7 separate regions of the Homo sapiens genome follow, and all the other regions are linked to region 1. The links are contacts of gene promoters, found by promoter capture Hi-C in blood cells and fetal thymus (Javierre and others, 2016). All regions are on one chromosome and are shown on one strand. The core of a region is centred on a gene start or on the middle of the fragment in contact, and the rest is flanking DNA. Distances in the headings are between cores, read along the strand shown. Region 1 holds the start of MIR17HG (miR-17-92a-1 cluster host gene). Region 2 overlaps GPR180 (G protein-coupled receptor 180). Region 3 overlaps ABCC4 (ATP binding cassette subfamily C member 4 (PEL blood group)). Region 4 overlaps LOC102724149 (a long non-coding RNA gene). Region 5 has its middle 7.3 kb from the start of DNAJC3-DT. Region 6 overlaps ABCC4 (ATP binding cassette subfamily C member 4 (PEL blood group)). Region 7 overlaps DNAJC3 (DnaJ heat shock protein family (Hsp40) member C3).

Evidence for each region. The method cuts DNA at HindIII sites, captures the fragments that hold promoters and counts their contacts. A CHiCAGO score of 5 or more calls a contact.
Region 2: a fragment that was not itself captured here is called in contact with the fragment with the promoter of MIR17HG in region 1 in 7 of 17 cell types (naive B cells, naive CD4 T cells, non-activated CD4 T cells and 4 more); the score reaches 10.9 in naive B cells.
Region 3: a contact is called between a fragment that was not itself captured here and the fragment with the promoter of MIR17HG in region 1, in 1 of 17 cell types (total CD4 T cells). The highest score is 7.1, in total CD4 T cells.
Region 4: a contact is called between a fragment that was not itself captured here and the fragment with the promoter of MIR17HG in region 1, in 4 of 17 cell types (naive CD4 T cells, activated CD4 T cells, naive CD8 T cells and 1 more). The highest score is 8.6, in naive CD4 T cells.
Region 5: a fragment that was not itself captured here is called in contact with the fragment with the promoter of MIR17HG in region 1 in 4 of 17 cell types (naive CD8 T cells, non-activated CD4 T cells, fetal thymus and 1 more); the score reaches 11.0 in naive CD8 T cells.
Region 6: a contact is called between a fragment that was not itself captured here and the fragment with the promoter of MIR17HG in region 1, in 1 of 17 cell types (naive CD8 T cells). The highest score is 6.0, in naive CD8 T cells.
Region 7: a contact is called between a fragment that was not itself captured here and the fragment with the promoter of MIR17HG in region 1, in 1 of 17 cell types (naive CD8 T cells). The highest score is 5.9, in naive CD8 T cells.

Annotation. Positions count from the first base shown.
Region 1 is chr13:91,346,204-91,349,262 of GRCh38, reverse strand. MIR17HG (miR-17-92a-1 cluster host gene) reads right to left here and starts at 1,576. Exons shown (of 3, transcript NR_197388.1): 1 at 1,304-1,576. RefSeq lists enhancers at 1-538, 2,008-2,087 and silencers at 88-1,077, 1,128-1,907. The HindIII fragment of the contact is 6,871 bases long and covers 1-3,059 here.
Region 2 is chr13:94,622,149-94,625,705 of GRCh38, reverse strand. It overlaps GPR180 (G protein-coupled receptor 180), which reads right to left. Exons shown (of 9, transcript NM_180989.6): 7 at 2,406-2,597. Among named protein-coding and RNA genes, the nearest start is that of GPR180, 22 kb to the right of the region's middle. The HindIII fragment of the contact is 8,166 bases long and covers 1-3,557 here.
Region 3 is chr13:95,171,879-95,174,981 of GRCh38, reverse strand. All of the region lies in intron 13 of ABCC4 (ATP binding cassette subfamily C member 4 (PEL blood group)), which reads left to right. Among named protein-coding and RNA genes, the nearest start is that of SNORD13G, 37 kb to the left of the region's middle. RefSeq lists an enhancer at 38-539. The HindIII fragment of the contact is 2,428 bases long and covers 630-3,057 here.
Region 4 is chr13:95,303,717-95,307,184 of GRCh38, reverse strand. All of the region lies in intron 2 of LOC102724149 (a long non-coding RNA gene), which reads right to left. Among named protein-coding and RNA genes, the nearest start is that of ABCC4, 4.0 kb to the right of the region's middle. The HindIII fragment of the contact is 4,555 bases long and covers 1-3,468 here.
Region 5 is chr13:95,668,009-95,671,215 of GRCh38, reverse strand. No RefSeq gene overlaps it. Among named protein-coding and RNA genes, the nearest start is that of DNAJC3-DT, 7.3 kb to the left of the region's middle. The HindIII fragment of the contact is 5,545 bases long and covers 1-3,207 here.
Region 6 is chr13:95,190,393-95,193,471 of GRCh38, reverse strand. All of the region lies in intron 9 of ABCC4 (ATP binding cassette subfamily C member 4 (PEL blood group)), which reads left to right. Among named protein-coding and RNA genes, the nearest start is that of SNORD13G, 18 kb to the left of the region's middle. RefSeq lists an enhancer at 1-39. The HindIII fragment of the contact is 6,767 bases long and covers 1-3,079 here.
Region 7 is chr13:95,684,070-95,687,413 of GRCh38, reverse strand. The region is part of intron 1 of DNAJC3 (DnaJ heat shock protein family (Hsp40) member C3); the gene reads right to left. Among named protein-coding and RNA genes, the nearest start is that of DNAJC3, 8.6 kb to the right of the region's middle. The HindIII fragment of the contact is 620 bases long and covers 989-1,608 here.

The sequences.
Region 1 (3,059 bases), core at 327-2,826:
TTTTGGTGATATTGCAACGACGAGCCTGCCTTTTTCAGTTCCTTTTCCCTTTGCTGCAGTTTAGGAACAGAAGACCGGGCAGGAACACCCGAGACTGCAAAGTGCCCGCCACGCTCATGGAGCCCGGGCCGGCAGCACATGTCGCACAAGGGGGAGCGCGGCCCTGCGATTCTCCGCGTAGCCGCCAGGGGGCGGCGGGTCAGAGTCAGGCCCCGCCGGACGCGGCAACCCCCCCAACCCGTTTCCCGGCGGCAGCCGCGCGGCGACCGGCGGCGCCGAGGCCCGAGTGCGGCGGGGACGCGGGCGCGCCGCCCCTCCTTTGTGTCCCCCAGCCCCCCCGAGCCCGGCCCAGAGGGGCGGGGGCTCCGCGGCCGCGGTGCCCGTCGCACGCGGCCCGAGGCCTAAGCCGGGAACAATCGGCGGCGGCGCGCAGTCGCCGCCATGTCCCCCGCCCTCACCCCCGTGCAGCCCGCCCCGCAGGAACATGGCGGCGGGGACGCCGCTCCCGCCGAGCCGGGCTGGCCCTCCCGCGCCACACTCCCAGCAAGCGGCCGGGCGCAGGCGGCTCCACGCCGCGGCTGAGGCCGACTGCGGCCTCCTCCGAGGGCCACGGCGGGGAAGTTGCGGGCCCCGCCCCGAGGCTGCCCACGCGGGCTAACAAAGCCCACGCGGAGCGGGGGTGGCGCCCAGGCCGCGCCGATCTCGGCGCCCCTCCGCCCACCCTCGCGCGTACAAAGTTTGGGGAACCGCGGGCTCCCGCCCACGCCACGCCGCCCGCTGGCGCGCAGGTACCTCGTGGGCGCGCCCCCTCCCGGCCCGCGGCCTGCCCCATGTGCCGCCGCCGCCGCCGCTTTGTTCTGGAGGCGCTTTAACTCTCGCCCTCGGGAGAAACTTTCCTACCCAGAGACCCCACGCCCCGCGCGCGCCCCGGGCCCCGGAGAAGGCACGGGCCTCGCACGTCCTCTCCCCGAGGGGCCATTGTGTTCGCCGTCCGCCCACCCGCCTTCGGGTCGGCCCAGGCAGGGTCTGCGCGGGTCCCGGGCGCGGCCGCCACGCGCACGCCGCCCCCTCCCACCCTCCCGCCCCGGCCCTGCCCCCCTCCGCCGGCCCGCGGGCGAGCGAGGGGGCAGCCAGATGCGGCTGCCACACGCCGGGGCGGCCAACGGCCGAGACCCGCCCCGGCCACGCCGCCGCCGCCACGCTGCCCCGGGCCAGTCCGCCCCGGGCCGCTCCGCCCCGCCCGCCAGACCCGGGCCGCACACAACAGGTTTCCCTCCGTCGCCGGAGGGGCGGGCAGACTCACCAGGAGGAGTAGCCGCCACCATCTTCGGCTGGCCGGCCGCGGGCTCCTGCTCCCGCCTCCCCGCCCGCCTGCGCTTTACTACGACCGGAGGCCCCAGGCCGGGGGTGCGGCCGGCCGGCCCGCCCCGCGAGGAGAGCTTCGCGGAGGAGCGCGAGCCCCGGCGGCGCTGCGGTAGTCGTCCCCACCCCCTCGGCCTCGCCCGAGGGCGCGAAGTGGCGCGAAGGCGCAGGTCGGGCGGCGGCGGCGGCACCTCGAAGGACCATGTGGGTGAATGAAGGGCGGCGGCTCCCGCCTCAACGTAAATACGGACAAGCCCCACTCCCTCATTAGCATAAAAAACAAAGTACTTCCGACCTCCCCGCCCGCCCGCCAATCACCGCAGGCCCCGCCCACGGCGGCTCGTTCTTGGCGGCCGGGAGAGCGGGAGCCGGGAGCCGCTGGCGGCGCCGCGCAGCCTTCCCCGGGCCGCGCTCCCCCGTGGCCCGCCCACCGCCGCCAGCCTCGCGGAGCGCCTCGCCCGAACACCTCGCGCCACGCCTCCGGCACGCCCTCCGTTAACAAGCTCTGCGCGCGTGCAGACCCCCGCGCGCCGCACACCCTCCTGGAAGCGCACGCTTCCCGGGGCTTCCTGGGAGCCCTGCTCTCCCTGGGACTCGACGTGTACGCTGTGCGATCACAGTTTATTACTTTACCGGCCCTTGGTGGGTTTCCGAGGTAATTAGGGGCCTGCTCCAGGCCAACCGGAACCAGAGAAGTAAAATCCAGTGACTTTAACATCGAAACAGAATTACTCGCTGCAAAGATCGTTTGAGACCCAGAAATAAATACATTACACCCGACACTCTTGTGAATGCACACTTCGTGGCAATGTGTTTCCTTAACCTGGCCGCGTGTAAACCAAAACGCATGCCCGAGCAGAGGTTTCACAGCTGCAGTACCTGAGCCTCCCCTCTCATGCCCAGCTGCATTTAGTAAGAACTCTGGGTTCTCCAGTAGAAATAGCATAGCTCGGAAAGAACCTCATAAACAACCACAAAGCTGAGAAAAGAAGCCCAATCAGGAGCACCTCCTTCTTCACATTGTGGTTCAGGAAATTCCGGAATTCTCAGAAACATAATTGTTAAAAGTGAGGATTCATAACATTTACGAGAAATACAGCAATTATAAATTGGTTTAAATCTAGTAAGTAGCTACTGCAAAGCACATATCACTGGTTCGTGATTGTACAAGTCAACTGTAAAACACACATTACCAAAGGATGTCTTTAATGCCCCAATGTTAAAATTTTTGACATTCAAACCTTGACAGTATTGTCATTTACTGTCTTTGACTTATTTTATCATGCTTTGCTTAAATCCAATTGTCAAACTAGTGATGACATAAAAAATAGTGGATTAAAGTTTTGCTACTCTTTTTTTTATTGAGTCTAGTTTCTAGATATTCCTTTCTTTGTAAATCAAAATAAAAGGCCAAATCTGAAATTTTACAATATCTAATATTTCTGTAATATAGTCATTTATGAACGTTTCAAAGAGGAAAACACTGCTAATTTTATTACAAGTCTAATTTTACGTTACTTTTGGTCGGCATTGACTAATATGTCAATGCCTTTTTCTTTAAAACTTTATCTTCTGTTTCAAATTAGAATGGTTGAGGCGGGGGGATGTTGTGAGTAAGATTGTTCATCACACTCTCTGAATCATGGGAAATCCCACCTATATACAGGTTTCTTAGCAGGAGTTATTCATCTCATAGT
Region 2 (3,557 bases), core at 827-3,326, 3.3 Mb before region 1:
TATTAATATAAGTAACAAATTATTAAGTGACAAAAGCAAGGCACAAATGTGTAATATTCCTGTAAAAGAAAAAAGAATGTACATTCATATTTGCATGCTGATACACAAAGAAATCCTGTAAAAATACACAAAAAACATTAATAGTCGTTACCTGTTTGAGGGTTAGAACAGAGGAGGGGGAGCTGGGCAGGTAAGAATGGGTAACTGTTTATACTTTTCAAATATTTTTCTATTCTTCCTTGAACCTAGTAATGTATTCTCTTTTCCAAAATTAAATTTGAAATAAAAAATAAGTTAATAAATAGCTGTTGAAATGTTTGGTACATTAAAGATATAGGGAGAAAAAAACAAGATATAGAAAAATGTTTAGTATGTTACTATTTGTATAAAAATGAAAGGAAATATATATAGGCATATATACTTAAAACTCCAGAAGGATAAATTAAGAACTAATAGCAATTGTGTGAGGAGGTGAGAATAACTTTTTGCTACTCCTTAAATACTTTTAGATGTTTGATCCTATTTAGAAAGTTAAATTAAAACATGAAATACTTTAAATTTTGCACTGCTTTAAGCATAAAGCAAAACAAGAGGCTAGGCGCGGTGGCTCATGCCTGTAATCCCAACATTTTGGGAGGCCGAGGCGGGCGGATCACCTGAGGTCGGGAGTTCCAGAACAGCCTGACCAACATGGAGAAACCCCATCTCTACTGAAAATGCAGAAATTAGCCAGGTGTGGTAGCACATGCCAGAGACTGAAACAGGAGAATCGCTTGACCCCAGGAGATGGAAGTTGCAGTGAGCCGAAATCGCACCACTGCACTACAGCCTGGACAAGAGCGAAACTCCATCTTAAAAAAGAAAGGCTGGGTGCGGTGGCTCACGCCTGTAATCCCAGCACTTTGGGAGGCCAAGGCGGGCATATCACAAGGTCAGGAGGTCGAGAGCATCCTGGCTAACACGGTGAAACCCCGTCTCTACTAAAAATACAAAAACTTAGCCGGGCGTGGGCGCGAGTTACTCGGGAGGCTGAGGCAGGAGAATGGCATGAACCCGGAAGGCGGAGCTTGCAGTGAGCCGAGATCACGCCACTGCACTCCAGCCTGGGCGATAGAGCGAGACACCGTCTCAAAAACAACAACGAAAAAAGCAAAATAAGAAAACTTAATGCCTAAACACCTCAAATACATATTAACTTATCAAACAATAAGCACTACTGTCCCTCTGAAAAACTCAAAGGCAGGATGACATCTTCTTGTCTTGCGCTCAGAAGCCTGAAGTTGGTTCTTAGGGCTGCAGCAGCAGCAGCTTTGCAATGCTCAACACTAGGAATAAAGCAGGAATCTGGCTCTCCTTCCATAGCTGCCTCAGAATAACGGCCAATAACTCTGGACAAGGTGGGCTGCCTGAACAGAATCAGTCTGATCAGAATGCTGGTTCGCAGGGCTAAAATGAAGGGGTATGGATTCTCTCAATCTGACAGAAAAATGAAACCTTCTAGGGAGGGAAGGTTCTATAATGTTACTGCTCTAACCCTTCTCCTGTATAGAAAAAAAACTGAATTTGCTTTTAGATCTCACTAGCACAAGAAGGTCAAGAAAGGAGGAATAAAGTGACACGATCTCATGTGGATGGGGTGAGGCTGGCTGAAACACATGGACTCAGCCTCCTGGCTCCAGCTGCTTATGCTGAAGGATAGCTCCTAACTGTTATAAAACACTGCATAACTCTGAGAATAACAGTTTATAGTCAATTAATAACTGTTGAGAAATCCAAACCATATTTGATTTTAAAAATTTAAAATTCTGGTATTACAGAAAAAAATGTAAAATCCCTATTGATGAAACTATGAACCAGGCAAAACTGACCCGCAAAGAATATATGGAAAATACTGTCTCACAGGTCTTGTAAAATAGGGATAATACCTACATCACATAAGTTGCTAAGGTTAAATGAGTTGAACCACATAAAGAACTTATGGTAGTGTCTGTCACATAACAGAAGTTTTTTTTTTTTTTTTTTGAAAAAAAGAAGGTCTCGCCCTGTCACCCAGGCTGGAGTGCAGTGGCCCAATCTTGGCTCACTGAAGCCTTCAATGCACAGGCTCAAGCAATCCTCCCATCTCAGCCTCTTGAGTAGCTGAGACAACAGGTGCTCGCCACAAAGCGTGGCTAATTTTAATTTTTTGTAGAGATGGGGTCTATGTTGCCCAGGCTGGTTTCCAACTTGGGGGCTCAAGCAATCTGTCTGTCTTGGCCTTCCAAAGCACTGGGATTATAGGAGTGAGCCACTGTGCCCAACCCAGAAGTTTAATAAAAGTTAGCATGTAGTTGTTTATTAACTTCCCAAAGAAACCAGAACCAAGTGGATAATCAGAATAAACGATTTTCTTTCCAAACCCATACTTTGGCAAATGTGATGTAGAACTCCCTTTTGAGTGTACTTCTCTCCACTGTGATGATCTGATAGAGTCCACAGCCTAATGACAATGCTAGGCAAATTCTTAGAACAATTAGGAGGATCCCTGCTAAGTTGTGGTGTGAATGGTAGCTATGATGACTGATATCTTCAAACTGTTCCCAAAGTAGCAAAACACTCTGCAAAAGAAAAACAATATTACATTTAGGAAAAAAAAATATACCTCATTACAATATTTTTTTCAACTCTTTAATAAACATCCCTTTAAATGTTATATAAACATTCCTATCAGACCATAGAGGTTGTTAATTAATAAAGTACAGTCTTTTCATCACTCTAATACCCTAAGCTAGACAAAATGAATTTTTATCAAGTGAGACCACAGTTAAGAGATTTTTAAAAAATTCTATTGCTGCCGGGCACAGTGGCTCAGGCCTGTAATCCCAGCACTTTGGGAGGCCAAGGTGGGTGGATCACCTGAGGTCAGGAGTTCGAGACCAGCCTGGCCAACATGGTGAAACCCCACCTCTACTAAAAATACAAAAAATTAGCTGGGTGTGGTGGCGGGCACCTGTAATCTCAGCTACTTGGGAGGCTGAGGTAGGAGAATCACTTGAACCCAGGAGGTGGAGGTTCCTGATTTCTTAACCAACATTTCTGAACTTCACTTTTGCAATACAGAAGTGCTACCACAGAGCTACCACAGCCCATGGTTCATATTTTTACATATTCAAACTTCCCTGTTTTCATATACATATGCTAATATGTGATCTGTATAAAATACGTATGTATTTGTATAGTCTCTGACTGCCTGTCTGATCTGCCTTGTCTGGCTTGTTGAAGATCAGAGCTATATTTAATGTATTCTTCATAAATGTTCATATAAACTCTAGTGTAATATTATCTCAGTTCTCAATTCATATTTGTCTATGACAATAAATTAAAATTACAATGAAATAATAAAAATGAAATTTTTAAAAAGAAATAAAAAGTGAGAATTTAACCTGACATTGACACTACTCTCCATAAGTCCTGGCTCAAAAACATTAAGTTGGTAGAATCTCAACCTTATTTTAATCAATTCTTCTAATTCAATTATTTCTCATCATCCCCTTTCCTGGCACTACCTCCTTTCTAAA
Region 3 (3,103 bases), core at 594-3,093, 3.8 Mb before region 1:
AAGCTATACAATTAAAAATGGTGTAAATGGTAAATGTTATGTCTTGTCTATTTTTCCACAACCAAAAAAAACGTGGATGGCAGCATTGAATCTTTCTGAATGCAGAGTGCAGGATAAGCTGGCACTTGGCATTGCCGCAGCAGTCTGATCAGAGCCTCGTTTCCTGCTCCCTCCTCATTGTGCCTTGATGAATTTTCCATTTCGCCGAGAAGGGCCTCTGTGGCTTGCTTGAGTCTTGCGCGAGGCCCCACCAGTTCTTTATCACTCAAACAACAATTCCCGGTGGGACGCTGTTTAGAGTCGCCGCGGGGAAGGAGGAAGGTATTTTCATTGCTGAGTATCAGTGTGCGTATCGCACAAGCTCCCTCAGATTTTCATTTGAACACAGGAGGTATTTATAAAGTCCTCTTGCACCTTTAAGGATTAATGACTTTGGATATATGCTTGTTAGAAGCAAGCTTGTTAAAATTGTTGTTTGCTAATCAGAATCACATTCTTTGGGGAAACTTAGGGCAGGGAGCACGAATGCAATTTAGGAAATCACTCAGCAGCAACTGGAGAATGTTCTCAACGAGTTAGAAAATTGGATTGAACAATATGCTATGAAAGATGGCGGTTGTGTTGAAGCTTAGAAATGTGAAGTGTTTTGTATTAAAAGTGAATGAATTACGCTTCTATTTGCCATTAACAGTTTTACTTCAATCATGAATATATATCGAGAGTTGTTAAGAGTTGTGTTTTACAACTATATGTTGCAAACACTAAGTGGATTTTATCACATACAAAAAGTGAGGGTCACTTAGATTAAAGGATGCTAATCCAATTTGTTGCCTGCTATAGATGTGGTTGTGTTCTAGAAAGCCTCAAATTCTCAGACCCCTGCCTCTTTGAGTCTCCTAATCAGATCTCCCACACTGTTGCCTACCTATTTGTCTTAGTCCATTCAGGCTGCTGATTCAAAATAGCATAAACTAGGTACTCCATATAAACAATAGAAAATTGTTTCTACAGTTCTGGAGGACAAGATTCAAGATCAAGGCGCCAGCAGTTTTGGTGCCTGGAGAGGGCTCACGCTCTGGTTCATAGACAGCTGTCTTGTCACTGTGGAAGGGGTACGGCAGCTTCCCTGGGCTGGCCCCTTCTACTAATACCATTTGTGTTGGCAGATTCTCATGAAATAGGCCTCACCTCCTAATACCATTACATTGGTGATTAGGGTTCAGTAGGAATTTGGGGAGGGCCACAAACATTCAGGCACAGCACTAGTTCACCTTCCCTCTTTCAGGTCCTCTAGGACTCCCCTACTTTTAAGCTACAGTTCTAAGTCCTCGAATGGCAAATTGCCCTTTGCAGTCTGCCCCATTCACCTTTCCAACCCTTGCCATGCAAGACCAGTCCTCCAGCCATGCACACTTCTTTGGGGTGCCTGGAAGGAGGTGTGAATTTCTCACGTCTGCCTGTCTGTAAGGGTATTTTTCCTGCCGTTGGACAACCAGGGATAGTTTGCCTGGGCAAAAGAGAAAAATGAAAGACACAGATCCTACCTCCTGCCTTTCTCTTCTGCTCCTCGGAGGGCATGGCGCTTTCTCTGTCTTCCCACAGCCCTCAATGAGCTGCTCTTGATCCACCTATGTGTTCTTCCCTCCAGCCCCCGCACTAGACTGCGAATGCATGAAGGTGCCTTTGCACAGCGCATTTGTGCCCCGGGACCATTGCACCTGCTGTATCTGCCAGGAATGCTTCCCCCAGATAGTCTCATGGCTCATACATCACCTCCTTGCAGAGAGGACTTTCCTGGCCACTCCCTCTAAAGTACAACCTTTGCCTGGCTGTCTCTTCATGGTTTACTTTACTATCCAATAGTGTGTTTTCTGTGTTTGTGTAGTGAGTGTCCCTACACGACTCAGGGTGTTGTCTGTTTGCTTGACCAGTGGATGTATCCTCATCACTTAGAGTAGTCCCTGGTACTTCGTCAGTGCTCAGCAAATGTATCTTAACTGAATGAATGAAGGTAGTGACTGTATCTGTCCCTCTCTCCCTCCCTCCATCCCTTCCTTCCTTTTTTGACAGAGTTTTGCCCTGTCACCCAGGCTGAAGTGCAATGGCATGATCACGGCCCACTGCAACTTCTACCTCCTGGGCTCAAGTGATCCTCCCGAGTAGCTGGGACTACAAGTGCACACCACCACTCCTGGCTAAGTTTCGTGTTTTTTTGTAGAGATGGGATCTCTCCATGTTGCCCAGACTGGCCTTTAACTCCTGGGTTCAAAAGATCCTCCTGCCTTAACCTCCCAAAGTGCTGGGATTATAGGTGTGAGCCACTGCACCAACTGACTATATCTTTCTCACTTGTGTCACCTCCAACATTGTATGTGTCAGCTCTTAATGTTGTCTTTTTTTTTTTTTTTTCCTTTTTGAGGCAGAGTCTCGCTCTGTTGCCCAGGCTGGAGTGCAGTGGCATGATCTTGGATCACTGCAGGCCTCCTGGGTTCCAGCAATTCTTGTGCCTCAGCCAGCCGAGTAGCTGGGATTACAGGCATGGGTGACCACATCCAGCTAATTTTTGTATTTTTAGTGGAGATGGGATTTCACCGTGTTGCTTGAACTCCCGACCTCAAGTGATCTGTCTGCCTCAGCCTTCCAAAGTGCTGGAATTATAGGCGTGAGCCCCCGTGGCTGGCCTCTTAATGTAGTCTTTATGTAGGATTAGAGTTAAATAGCTCATTGCTACATCAATCACTTATTATTTGTTTGTTTTATGGCATGACTGGAAGATTTTTACTCTTAATAATTTGGAAAGTATTTTTTGAGATTTGCCTAAGAAGCATAATTTAGAAAAAATTTCAAGCCATCAATTACAATGTTAGTGTAATTATTTCTATTATCTCATCTACAATGGAAGATGTTAGGAAGAAAACATTTTGAAACCTTTGAGTTGGCTGATACTGGACATAGCACCCATCAGATTTGATCATTAACATCTCCCTTTAGATATGTATATAAAAGGACTAATGGCAGCCAATCTTGATATAAAGGGAAACAGTTTCATTAAAAGCTTTAGTACTAAACCTGAAGAGGGGTATAAGTACTAAACCTGAAGAGG
Region 4 (3,468 bases), core at 641-3,140, 4.0 Mb before region 1:
CCTATGAGTGAGAACATGCAGTGTTTGGTTTTTTGTCCTTGCGATAGTTTGCTGAGAATGATGGTTTCCAGCTTCATCCATGTCCCTACAAAGGACATGAACTCATCATTTTTTATGGCTGCATAGTATTCCATGGTGTATATGTGCCACATTTTCTTAATCCAGTCTATCATTGTTGGACATTTGGGTTGGTTCCAAGTCTTTGCTATTGTGAATAGTGCTGCAATAAACATACGTGTGCATGTGTCTTTATAGCAGCATGATTTATAATCCTTTGGGTATATACCCAGTAATGAGATTGCTGGGTCAAATGGTATTTCTAGCTCTAGATCCCTGAGGAATTGCCACACTGACTTCCACAATGGTTGAACTAGTTTACAGTCCCACCAACAGTGTAAAAGTGTTCCTATTTCTCCACATCCTCTCCAGCACCTGTTGTTTCCTGACTTTTTAATGATTGCCATTCTAACTGGTGTGAGATGGTATCTCATTGTGGTTTTGATTTGCATTTCTCTGATGGCCAGTGATGGTGAGCATTTTTTCATGTGTCTTTTGGCTGCATAAATGTCTTCTTTTGAGAAGTGTCTGTTCATATCCTTCGCCCACTTTTTAATGGGGTTGTTTGTTTTTTTCTTGTAAATTTGTTGAGTTCCTTGTAGATTCTGGATATTAGCCCTTTGTCTGATGAGTAGGTTGCAAAAATTTTCTCCCATTTTGTAGGTTGCCTGTTCACTTTGATGGTGGTTTCTTTTGCTGTGCAGAAGCTCTTTAGTTTAATTAGATCCCGTTTGTCAATTTTGGCTTTTGTTGCCATTGCTTTTGGTGTTTTAGACATGAGGTCCTTGCCCATGCCTATTCTTAAGACATCTTTAGGCTGGGTGCTGTGGCTCTCACCTGTAATCCCAGCACTTTAGGAGGCTGAGGCTGGCAGATCACTTGAGCTCAGGAGTTTGAGACCAGCCTGGGCAACACAGCAAAACCCCCTCTCTACCAAAAAAATACAAAAGTTAGCTGGGCATGGTGGTGCGTGCCTGTAGTTCCAGCTACTTGGGATGCTGAGATGGGAGGATGGGCTTGAGCCCGGGAGGTTGTAGTGAGCCAAGATTGCACCACTGCACTCCAGCCTGGGTGAGAGCTAGACCCTGTTTCAAAAACAAACAAACAAACAAACAAACAAACAAAAAAGAAGACATCTTCCTCGTCTTTGCAGGCTCATTCCCTGGCCTAGCTGTCATGTATCCAGAAGGCGTTCACTAACGATTTATTGAATGAATGGGAAAAAACCCCCATCCTTTAATTTGTATATTGCCTTCAGAGTGTATTCACAAGTTGTGAGACTCACAATAATCCTGTGAAGAAGGAAGAGTGGGGATTCTGATCCCTATTTTGTTTTTACATGTATTTTTATGTTTTTAGAGACAGGGTCTCTCACTCTGTCTCCCAGGTTGGAGTGCAGTCGTGCAATCAGAGCTCACTGCAGCCTCAAACTCCTAGGCTCAAGTGATCCTCCCATCTTACCCTCCCGAGTAGCTAGGACTACAGGTGTGTGCCACCATGCCTGGCTAATTTAAAAAACATTATTATTACTATTATTATTATTATTTTTTATTTTTATTTTTTGTAGAGACGGCATCTCATCACATTGCCCAGGCTGCTCTCGAACTCCTGGCTTCAAGTGATGCTCCTGCCTTGGGCTCCCAAAATGTTGAAATTATAGGTGTGAGCTACCATGCCCTGCCTGACCCCATTTTATTGTTGTTGTTTTTTTTTGAGATGGAGTCTAGCTCTGTCACCTAGGCTGGAGTGCAGCAGCGAGCTCTTGGCTCATGGCTCACTGCAACCTCTGCAGCCCAGGTTCAAGTAATTCTCCTGCCTTAGCGTCTCAAGTAGGTGGGACTACAGGCGCATGCCACCAAGCCTGGCTAATTTTTATCTTTTTTTTTTTTTTTTTGAGACAGAATCTCGCTCTGTCGCCAGGCTGGAGTGCAGTGGCATGATCTCGGCTCACTGCAACCTCTGACTCCCTGGTTCAAGCAATTCTCCTGCCTCAGTCTCGCAGGTAGCTGGGATTACAGGCACATGCCACCACGCCCAGATCATTTTTGTATTTTTAGTAGAGAGGGGGTTTTGCCATGTTGGCGAGGCTGGTTTCTAACTCCTGACCTCAGGTGATCTGTCTGCCTCCGCCTCCCAAAGTGCTGGGATAACAGGCATGAGCCCCTGCGCCCGCCCCGACCCCATTTTAGACCTGAGAAAAATAAGGGTCAGAAAGGTTAGGTAACAAGTGAAAAGATATAAAGCCCTGGCCCCCTGGTTCCATATCCACTCCTCTCTGCAGTCAGACACTGCTCTATAGTATCTCTTCCAAACACCACATTGTTAATGTTCAGAAAAGAATGTTAAGAAGTTCCAAAAGATCTTAATTAAGAAAAAAATAAGCCTCTGCAGGAGCCGAAGGGACTGAGCACTTTGGCAATTTGGAGATGGCTAATGACGGTTCTTACACAGTTGTTGGGGGTAGGGAGAGCATTCTGGGACAGTCTGACAGAGGAAGTCACTAGACTTCTAACTTTAGTAAACAGGTTCTCTAGCTTGGAAGTAGAACTGGTAGCTCAGCATTTACTGGGCTAGAAAACTTAGGAAGTTTCAAAGGGCACTGTAAATCAGGTGAAGGCTGACTATTTTGGTTTATAGCTTATATTATCTGAGAAAGAGCTATCAGAAAGGTAGGTTATTGAATGATCATAGCTTTCCCACAGTAGTCAACTTAAAATATTGTGTTCCTTTTTGTGACAGAAATTCTGAAACATGAGCTGGTATGCTGGCGAGTGCCTACAATCCCAGGTACTTGGAGGGGTTGAGGCAGGAGGATCCCTTGGGCCCAGCAGCTTGAGTCCAGCCTGGGCAACATACTGAGAGCCCATCTCCAAAAAGAAAACCATTCTCAAACATGCATGAAATGTAAGAAAATAAACCCCTATGACACATCATTTGGCTTCAAAAATTATCAATATTTTGCCATTCTTATGTGCTTGACTTTTTTTTTTTTTGAGACAGAGTCTCACTCTTTAGCCCAGGCTGGAGGGCAGTGGTGTGATCATAGCCTACTGTAGCCTCCAACTCCTGGGCTTAAGCAATCCTCCCACCTGAACCTCCAGCTGGGACTACAGACTCACGCCACCACACCCATCATATTTTTACATTTTTAGTAGAGATGAGGTCTCCCTTTGTTGCCCAGGCTGGTCTAGAACTCCTGGGCTCAAGCAATCCTCCCACCTGAGCCTCCAGGTTACATGGGACTACAGACTTACTCCACCATGCCCATCTAATTTTCACATTTTTAGTGGAGATGAGGTCTCCCTATGTTGCCCAGGCTGGTCTAGAACTCCCGGGCTAAAGCAATCCTCCTGTCTCCACCTCTCAAAGTGCTGGGATTATGGGCTTGTACAGCCTGGAGTGCAGTGGCAC
Region 5 (3,207 bases), core at 222-2,721, 4.3 Mb before region 1:
GTGGGCTCTTCGGGTCCCTGATTCCAGAGTTGGCTCTTGGATGGCATTTCTGGCCCTGGGCCAGAGGGGAGCCCACTGCCCTGAAAGGTGAATTCCAGGCATGGCAGCATTGACCACAAGCTGACTACAAAGCCCTTAGGTCTTAAGTGAACATCAGCAGAATCATGGCAATACTCCCAGTGTCTTGTGATGTTGATGGACATGGGGAGAGACTCCTCTGCCTGGTGAAAGAGGAGGGAAGACTAGAAAGGACTTCGTCTTATGGTTTCAGTGCTAGCTTACCCTCAGTAGAATAGAGCACCGGGTAGATTTCTAAGGTTTCTGACTCCAGGTTCTGGAGTTACTGCTGCTGACTCCTAAACAGCATCTCTGAACCCACCCGGGGCTCTGAGGAACTCGCCATCCTGAAGAGAAAGACAGAAAGCTAGCTGGCTTCACTGCCTGCTAATTGTAGAGCCCTAGGAACTTCAGCTAACATAGGTAGTAGCAGGTAGTGGTTACAGTGGGCCTTTGGCATAACCCATAGCTGTGCTGGCTTCAGGTCTGACCATCCACAGTCCCAGTGATGGTGGCCACGGAGGTACTTGTGTCACCCCTCCCCCGGCTACAGGTAGTGTTGCTGGACGTCAGGGACCCCGAATGGAGGGACCAGCTGGAGCTGCAGCAGAGGAATATAAATTGTGAAGATTTCATGGACATTTATCAGTTCCCAAATAATACTTTTATAATTTCTTATGCCTGTCTTTAATCTCTTAATCCTGTTATCTTCGTAAACTGAGGATGTACATCACCTCAGGACCATTGTGACAATTGTGTACAAATTGATTGTAAAACGTGTGTTTGAACAATATGAAATCAGTGCACCTTGAAAAAGAACAGAATAACCACGATTTTTAGGGAACAAGGGAAGACAACAGTAAGGGCTGACTGCCTGCAGGGTTGGGCAAAAAGAGCCATATTTTTCTTCTTGCAGAGAGCCTATAAATGGACGTGCAAGTAGGAGAGATATCACTAAATTCTTTTCCTAGCAAAGAATATTAATATTAATACCCTGGGAAAGGAATGCATTCCTGGGGGAAGGTCTATAAACGGCCGCTCTGGGAATGTCTGTCCTATGCAGTTGAGGTAAGGACTGAGATACGCCCTGGTCTCCTGCAGTACCCTGAGGCTTACTAGGATGGGGAAAGACCCAGGCCTGGTAAGACCGGTTCTCTGCTCTCGAACCCTGTTTTCTGTTATTTAAGATGTTTATCAAGACAATACATGCACCACTGAACATAGACCCTTATCAGTAGTTCTCCTTTTTGCCCTTTGAAGCATGTGATCTACTCCCTGTTCTTACACCCCCTCGCCTTTTAAAACACTTAATAAAAAACTTGACGGTTTGAGGCCCAGCGGGGCATCACGGTCCTACCAATATGTGATGTCACCCCCAGCAGCCAAGCTGTAAAATTCCTCTCTTTGTAATCTTTCTCTATTTCTCAGCTGGCCGACACTTAGGGAAAATAGAAAGAACCTACATTGAAATATTGGGGGCGGTTCCCCCGATAAGGTAGCTCAACAGAGAGAGATAGAGAGAGAGAGACAGACTGATTCTGTTTGGGCAAAAACAAGGAAAAAGAACAAGAGTCTCTGCCCAGTAATCCAGATAATTCTTTCGGGTATTATCCAAGACCACCAAAGCAGTACCTCTATGTGTATGAAAGAACTACAATATTACTGCATTTAGGGGCCCACTAATGCAGATATGGCTGCAGTGACCAAAAACTTAGATCACAACATCCAAGCCCATTTGAATACCTGGAATGCCTTCCCAAGAAGGATGACTACAAACAAGCCCTACTGTGAAGACTACAATAAATACCTAACTCTTCAATGCCCAGACACCAACAAACATCCACAAGCACCAAGTCATCCAGGAAAGCATGACCTCAGCAAACAAACTAAACAAGGTACCAGGGGCGAATCCCAGAGAGACAGAGATATGTTACCTTTCAGACAGAGAATTCAAAATAGCTGTTTGGAGGAAACTCAAAGAAATACAAGATAATGGAGAGAAGGAACTTAGAATCCTATCACATAAATTTAACAACGAAATTGAAATAAGTGAAAAGCAGAAATTCTGGAGTTGAAAAATGCAATCAACATACTGAAGGCATCAGAGTCTCTTAATAGCAGAATTGATCAAGCAGAAGAAAATAATAGCTTGAAGACAGGCTGTTTGAAAATATACACTCAGAAGAGACAAAAGAAAAAAAGAATAAAAAAGAATGAAGCACACCTACAGGATCTAGATAATAGTTTCAAGGGGGAAAATCTAAGAGTTATTGGCCCTAAAGAGATGGTGGTGGGGGGCGGGTAGAAAGTTTGTTCAAAGGGATAAAAACAGAGAACTTCCCAAAACCTCCCAAACCTAGACAAAAATATCAATACTCAAGTATAAAAAGATTATAGATCACCAAGCAGATTTAACCCAAAGACTACCTCAAGGCATTTAACAGTCAAACTCCCAATGGTCAAGGATAAACAAAGGATCCTAAAAACAGCAAGGGAAAAGAAACAAATAACATACAATGGAGCTTTAATATGTCTGGCAGCAGATTTCTCAGTGGAAACCTTACAGGCAAGGAGAGAGTGGCATGACACATTTAAAGTGCTAAAGGAAAAAAAATGACCTTAGAATAATATATCCAGTGAAACTATCCTTGAACCATGAGGAGAAATAAAGACTTTCCTGGGAAAATAAAATCCATGGGATTTCATGAACACCATACCAGTCCTACAAGAAATGCTAAAGGGGGTACTTTAATCAGAAAGAAAATGATGTTGATGAGCAAAAGAAATCATCTGAAGGTACAAAACTCACTGGTAATAGTAAGTACACAGAAAAACACAGACTATTATAATACTGTAACTGGCATGTGTAAACTACTCAAGTAGAAAGACTAAATGATGAACCAATAAAAATAATGACTACAACAACTTTTCAAGACATAGTACAGTAAGATATAAATAGAAACAACAAAAAGTTAAAAAGCTGGGGGATGAAGTTAAGGTGTAGAGTTTTTATTAGTTTTTGCCTAAATGTTTGTTTATGTAAACAGTGTTATTATCAGCTTAAAGTAATGGGTTATAAGATAGTAGTTACAAGCCTCATAGTAACCTCAAATCAAAAAGCATATAACAGATATACAAAAAATAAGCAAG
Region 6 (3,079 bases), core at 1-2,500, 3.8 Mb before region 1:
ACGGCAGGAAGCTGCACCCCGGGGCTGGAGATGATGTCTGCCAGGAGCAGAGCCCAGTGGCCCAGCTGCCAGCAAGATTTGGGAGCAGAGGGCGAGGGTCTCTTCTGAGGGTACTGGAACAGCTCAGGCTGCTTAAAACAGGTGGGCAGTGCTGGTGGTGACCAGCTCCTCCCCTCTCCGGGTGCTCTTTGTGGCTGACCTTGCGTTGTAGCGTAGTTTGCTGGAGCCAAGAGCCAATAGGCGGTTGAGCAGCACTCCTGCCCAGCCCCACTGCCTCCGTCCTCCCCTGTGGGACAAATGTCAAAACTCTCTAGACTCCAGACTCTTCCTTTCTCTACATGCCCTTGGCTCTAAGTATTGCACTCCCTGTTTCATGTTTGCCTAATTCTGATGTAATTTCTGCCATCTCTACCAACAAAACAATAATGTGTTCCCAGATATTTAGAACATCATCGCATCTTGTGCACATGGAAACTCACACAAGGTGACAGTTTCTCTTTATCTGCTGGCATTCCCACCCTCATACACTTTATTTATTTATTTATTTGTTTTGGAGACAGAGTCTTGCTCTTTTGCCTAGGCTGGAGTGCAGTGCTGTGATTTCGGCTCACTGTAACCTCTGTCTCCCAGGGTCAAGTGATTCTCCTGCCTCAACCTCGTGAGTAGCTAGGATTACAGGCACGCCCCACCATGCCTGGCTAATTTTTGTATTTTTAGTAGAGACAGGGTTTCTCCCATGTTGGCCAGGCTGGTCTTGAATTTCTGGCCTCAAGTGATCTGCCCGCCTTGGCCTCCCAAAGTGCTGGGATTGCAGGCATGAGCCACCGTGCCCAGCTCTAATACACTTCAAGCATTGACAGACAGCTCTGTGAACATCCCACTAGAAAAAAGCACTCTAGGTGAATGCTGTTGAGCTAGAGGAAGGCACTGAGGTAGCTACCACACACTGTGTAGGTCCCATTTGCAAATTTCTTTTGTACCAAACCCTGCGATATTGTAAAATGGTCTGTTTTGTTGTTTTTCGGTTCCTAGATAACATTGACAGCTGCATTGTAAACAGAACACTCCATCCTGTTTTCTGGCCTTGTCTTGGGGTGATTTTGCCTCACACTGGCAGGGATTATTAGGGAGGTCCTGCGGCTGAGAGGGTGCTGGGGTGGGAGGAGGGGCACAGACACGGGCTTCTGGAGAGAAGCTGCAGAGGAAAGAAGGGTGTGCTGGGCTGGGATTTCGGAGAAAGACAGAGACCCCAGCAGCAGTCCTGCTGGATAGACCAGCAGGTATTGGAGGGAAGGTCTTCTCACCAGCCTAGGTCTCATTTATAAAACAGGGGCTTGGGCTGAAGCTGTAAAGTCTGTGGCCCCGTGAGAGCCTGTGACTCTCCATGGGGAAGGGATTTGCTTCTGCTTTCTTCACTGCTCTGGCCCCAGGGCCCACAGAGTGGGGGCTCAGTCTGCCTGCCTTAGTGTGTCTTGGAGCCTGGGGAGGTCCCAGAGGGAATGGGCCTAGCCTTCTGAGCTGTCGAGTGCTGCCCCCTTCTGGCTGCAGCCCACCAGTGCTGGGTCCCAGGCCTCCCGGCGGGGCAGAAACCTGCTCTAAGAACCAGGGCCTTGATGGGAAGCTGGGTTTTGCATGTGGCTCACTCTTTTGCAGCCAAAACTGAATAAAAAGAAGTAAAATCAGAAGTAGTTGTTAGGAAAGAGACACACTGCAAAGGAGGGGAAAGGGACAGGTTGACCGGTTGTGTTTTTTCATCCTTTTGTAATCACAGAAATAAGTAGGTTTCAGTTGTCTTAAGAGACAGATGTTACTTAATCAGGAATACAGAGTAGACCCGTTACATTTTAGAGGAGGAACACCTTATATAGTAAGGCGAAGTCAAGCAAGACTTTGTGAATTTGTGACAAGTTTGCACTTAAAATCGTGTAAATATGTCACATTTTGTTTAACGTTATTTTTCCAAGTGTTTAGGTAATGTATTACTTTTTTAAAAAAGAAATAGTTGTTAGGCATGTATGAAGGAGTAAAGAAACCTATTCTGGGTGGTTGTTATATAATTCCTATGAAATCTGGGGCTAATTTCTTTGTGCTTAAAAGGGATCATGATCGTTTTGGTCTGCGGCCATCCTATGATGTGGTATGGGACACATAAGGGGTCAGTTTTCATACACACATATTTTAGCATTTGACCATTTATAGAAATATTTGTGATTATTCGGATATGTGACCATTAAGTCGTTTCCAGGTAAATTTTTCATTTTGAAGGTTATCTTGATCTCTTATTCCCCCACCGTGCTTTCTGTCTTTTGGGCATTTTACTAATTGCACATGCCCGCTTGAGATGTGGAGAGGGGTTGATGAGTAACTGTGGGCTGCGCCAGCTCAGTGTCTTTAGGTTTTGGGTTGGTTGACTCCATGCGTGCTTCCCTCTTCCATCATCCCAGGGGTGTTCCACCCTTCAGGGACGCCAGATTCATTTTGAAGAATCCTTTTCTAGAGTTGAGGAGGCTGCATTGCCTTTGATTCATTCTTGATCATTTTTCTATGATATGGATGAGCATTTACCAAAGTGTGTCGTGCAGAAGAATAGCCACTTCCGAAAGGATTTGGGACTTGAATAAATTTGCTAAATGCCTACCCACCAGACATGCATGGTCAAGTCTCTCCAATCTATCCACGAGAAATTCAGACGAAGATTATAAATGTGCTGCTTAAACCCCTTTAGGATTCCTCCCAAATTGTAGCTGTTTTTACTTTACTTAACAGTATCAATTTTTGTCTACTAGTGTTGATGTCTGGGTTTGGACAAAAGTTCTTAGAGTTGGCAGTTTTTACGGTTGAGGTTCTATACTCTGAATTTAAAACCATTCCTCTCTTTATTTGTACCAACTGACTTTTGCTTTTTTAAAAGATAGATAATTCAAAGTACTGATTGTCCTTGTATGAGAAGAGGAAACCTCCTCATTTTGGTTTATCATGCTCTGGTAAACTATCCCTATCATGCTCTGGTAAACTATCCCTTCTCCCTGATACACACTTAATCCTCTCAATTGAAAATATTTAGAAGCTCTTTGTAAAA
Region 7 (3,344 bases), core at 49-2,548, 4.3 Mb before region 1:
ATTCAACATAGTACTGGAAGTCCTGGCTAAAGTTATCAGGCAAGAAAAAGAAATAAAAGATATCCAAAAGGGACAAGAGGAGGTCAAATTATGTCTCTTCACAAATATGATTTTTTTACCTAGAAAACCCTAAAGATTCTACTAAAGGACTCCAAGACCGATAAACAACTTGAGTAAAGTCTCAGTATACAAAACCATGGTATAAAAATCTGTAGCATTTCTATACACCAACAATATTCAAGCCAAAAACCAAATCAAGAATTCAATCCCATTTACAAAAGCCATATGCAAAAAAATAAAATACCTAGGAAAACACTGACCAAGGAGGTGAAAGATCTCCATGAGAACTACAAAACACTTATGAAACAAATCATATATGTCATAAATAAACACAAAAACATCCCAGGCTCATGGATTTGGAGACTATCATTAAAATAACCATACTGCCCATAGTAATCTGTAGATTCAACACAATTCCTATCAAATCACCAATGTCATTTTTCAGAGAACTAGGAAAAACAATTCTAAAGTCCATACAGCACCAAAAAAGGGCATGAATAGCCAAAGTAATCCTAACCAAAAAGAACAAATCCAGAGGCATCACATTACTTGACTTCAAATTATACTACAAGGCTATAGTAACTAAAATGGCATGGTACTGGTACAAAAATACGCACACAGATCAATGGACTACAATAGAGAACCCCAGAAATAAAACCACATACTTACATCCAACAGATTGATCTTTGACAAAGCTGACAAATATAAACAACAGGGAAAGGACACCCTAATTCAATAAATGGTGCTGGGAAAATTGGCTAGCCATATGCAGAAGAAACTGGATCTCTGTCTCCCAGCATATACAAAAACTACCTCAAGATAGATTAAACATTTTGGACATTGGCCTAGGCAAACAACTTATGACGAAGACCCCAAACACAAATGCAACAAAACCAAAAATAAACAAATGGGACTTAACTAAAAAGCTTCTGCACATCAAAAGATAATCAACAGGGCAAAGAGACAAACTACAGAATGAGAGAAAACATTTGCAAATTATGCCTCCGACAAAGGACTAATATCCAGAATCTACAAGACACTCAAACAACTCAACAAGAAGAAAACAAAGAACCCCATTAAAAAGTGGGCAAAGGGCCAGGCGCACTGGCTCACGCCTGTAATCCCAGCACTTTGGGAGGCCAAGGCGGGTGGCTCACAAGGTCGGGAGATCAAGACCATTCTGGCTAGCACAGTGAAACCCTGTCTCTACTAAAAATACAAAAAATTAGCCGGGCATGGTGGCAGGCACCTGTAGTCCCAGCTGCTTAGGAGGCTGAGGCAGGAGAATGGCGTGAACCTGGGAGGCGGAGCTTGCAGTGAGCCAAGATCGTGCCACTGCATTCCAGCCTGGGCGACAGAGCAAGACTCTGTCTCAAAAAAAAAAAAAGTGGGCAAAGGACATTAAGAGACATTTCTCAAAAGAAGACATACAAGCAGCCAACAAACATGAAAAAATGTTCATCACTAATCATCAGAGAAATGCAAATTAAAACCACAATGAAATATCAATCATCTTACACAAGTCTGAGTGGCTATTACTAAAAAGCTTAAAAAAAAATAGATGTTAGCATGGAGGTGAAGAAATTGTAACACATATATGGGTGGCAGCAATGTAAATTAGTTCAACCACTATGGAAAACAATATGGAGATTTCTAAAAAAAAACAAAAAACCTACCACCAAGCCCCAACTCCAACATTAGGGATTACAATTCAACATAAGATTTGGGTGGGGCACAGATCCAAACCATATCATTCCGCCCCAGCTCCTCCAAAATATCATGTTCTCACATTACAAAATACAATCATCCCTTCTCAACAGCCCCCAAAGTCTTAACTCATTCCAGCATTAACTCAAAAGTCCAAAGTCTCATCTGGGACAAGCCAAGTCCCTTCCACCTATAAGCCTATAAAATCAAAAACAAGTTAATTACTTCCAAGATACAATGGGATTATAGGCATTGGGTAAATAGTCCCATTCCAAAAGGGTAAAACCGGCCAAAAGAAAAAGGCTACGGGCCCCATGCACGTGCTAAAACCCAGCAGGGCAGTTATTAAATCTTAAAGCTCCAAAATAATCTCCTTTGACTCCATGTCTCACATCCAGGGCATATTGCAGCAAGGGGTGAGCTCCCAAGGCCTTGGGCAGTGCCACTCCTGTGACTTTGCAGGGCTCAGCCCACGCGGCTGCTGTCAAGGGCTGGCAATGAGTGGCTGCAGCTTTTCCAGGTGCATGGTGCAAGCTGTCAGCGGATCTACCATTCTGGGGTCTGAAAGATGGTGGTCTTTCTCACAGCTCCACTAGGCAGTGCCCCAGTGGGGACTCTGTTGGGGGCTCCAACCCCACATTTCCCCTCTGCACTGCCCTAGTAGAGATTTTTCCATGAGGGCTCTGCCCCTGCAGCAACCTTCTGCCTGAACATCCAGGCTTTTCCATATATCTGAAATCTAGGCTGAGGCTCCCAAGCCTCAATTCTTGGCTTTCAGCACCTGCAGGCTTAACAGCATGTGGAATCTTCCAAGGGTTTGGGCTGGCACCGTCTGAAGGCCTGAGCTATATCTGGGCCCCTTTCAGCCATGGCTGGAGCTGGAGTAACTAGGATGCAGGCAGCAGTGTCCTGAGGCTGGCAGGGCCCTGGCCCAGGAAACTGTTCTTCCCTCCTAGGTCTCTGGGCCTATGATAGAAGGAGCTGCCTTAAAGGTCGCTGAGATGCCTTGGAGCCCTTTTTCCCATTGTCTTGGCTATCAGCACTTGGCTCCTCTTTACTTATGCAAATTCATGCAGTCTGCTTGAATTACTCCCCTATAAATGGGTTTTTCTTTTCTACCACATGGTCAGACTGAAAATTTTCCAACTCTTCTGCTCTGTTTCCCTTTTAAATGTAAGTTCCAATTTTACATCATTTCTTTGTTCATGAATATGAGCACTGGCTGCTAGAGGCCAGGTCACATCTTGAACACTTTGCTGCTTAGAAGTTTCTTCCACCAGATACCCTAAATCACCTCTCTCAAGTTCAAAGTTCCACAGATCCATAGACCAGGGGTACAATGCCACCAGTCTCTTTACTAAAGCATAGCAAGAGTGGCCTTTACTCCAGTTCCCAATAAGTTCCTCATCTGCGGTCATTCTGAGCCCTCCTCAGCCTGAACTTCACTGTCTATACCACTATCAGCATTTTGGTCACAACCATTCAACAAGTCTCTAGGAGGTTTCAAACTTTCGTTCCTCTTCCTGTCTTCCTCTGAGTCCTCCAAACTGTCCCAACCTCTGCCCATTACCCCATTC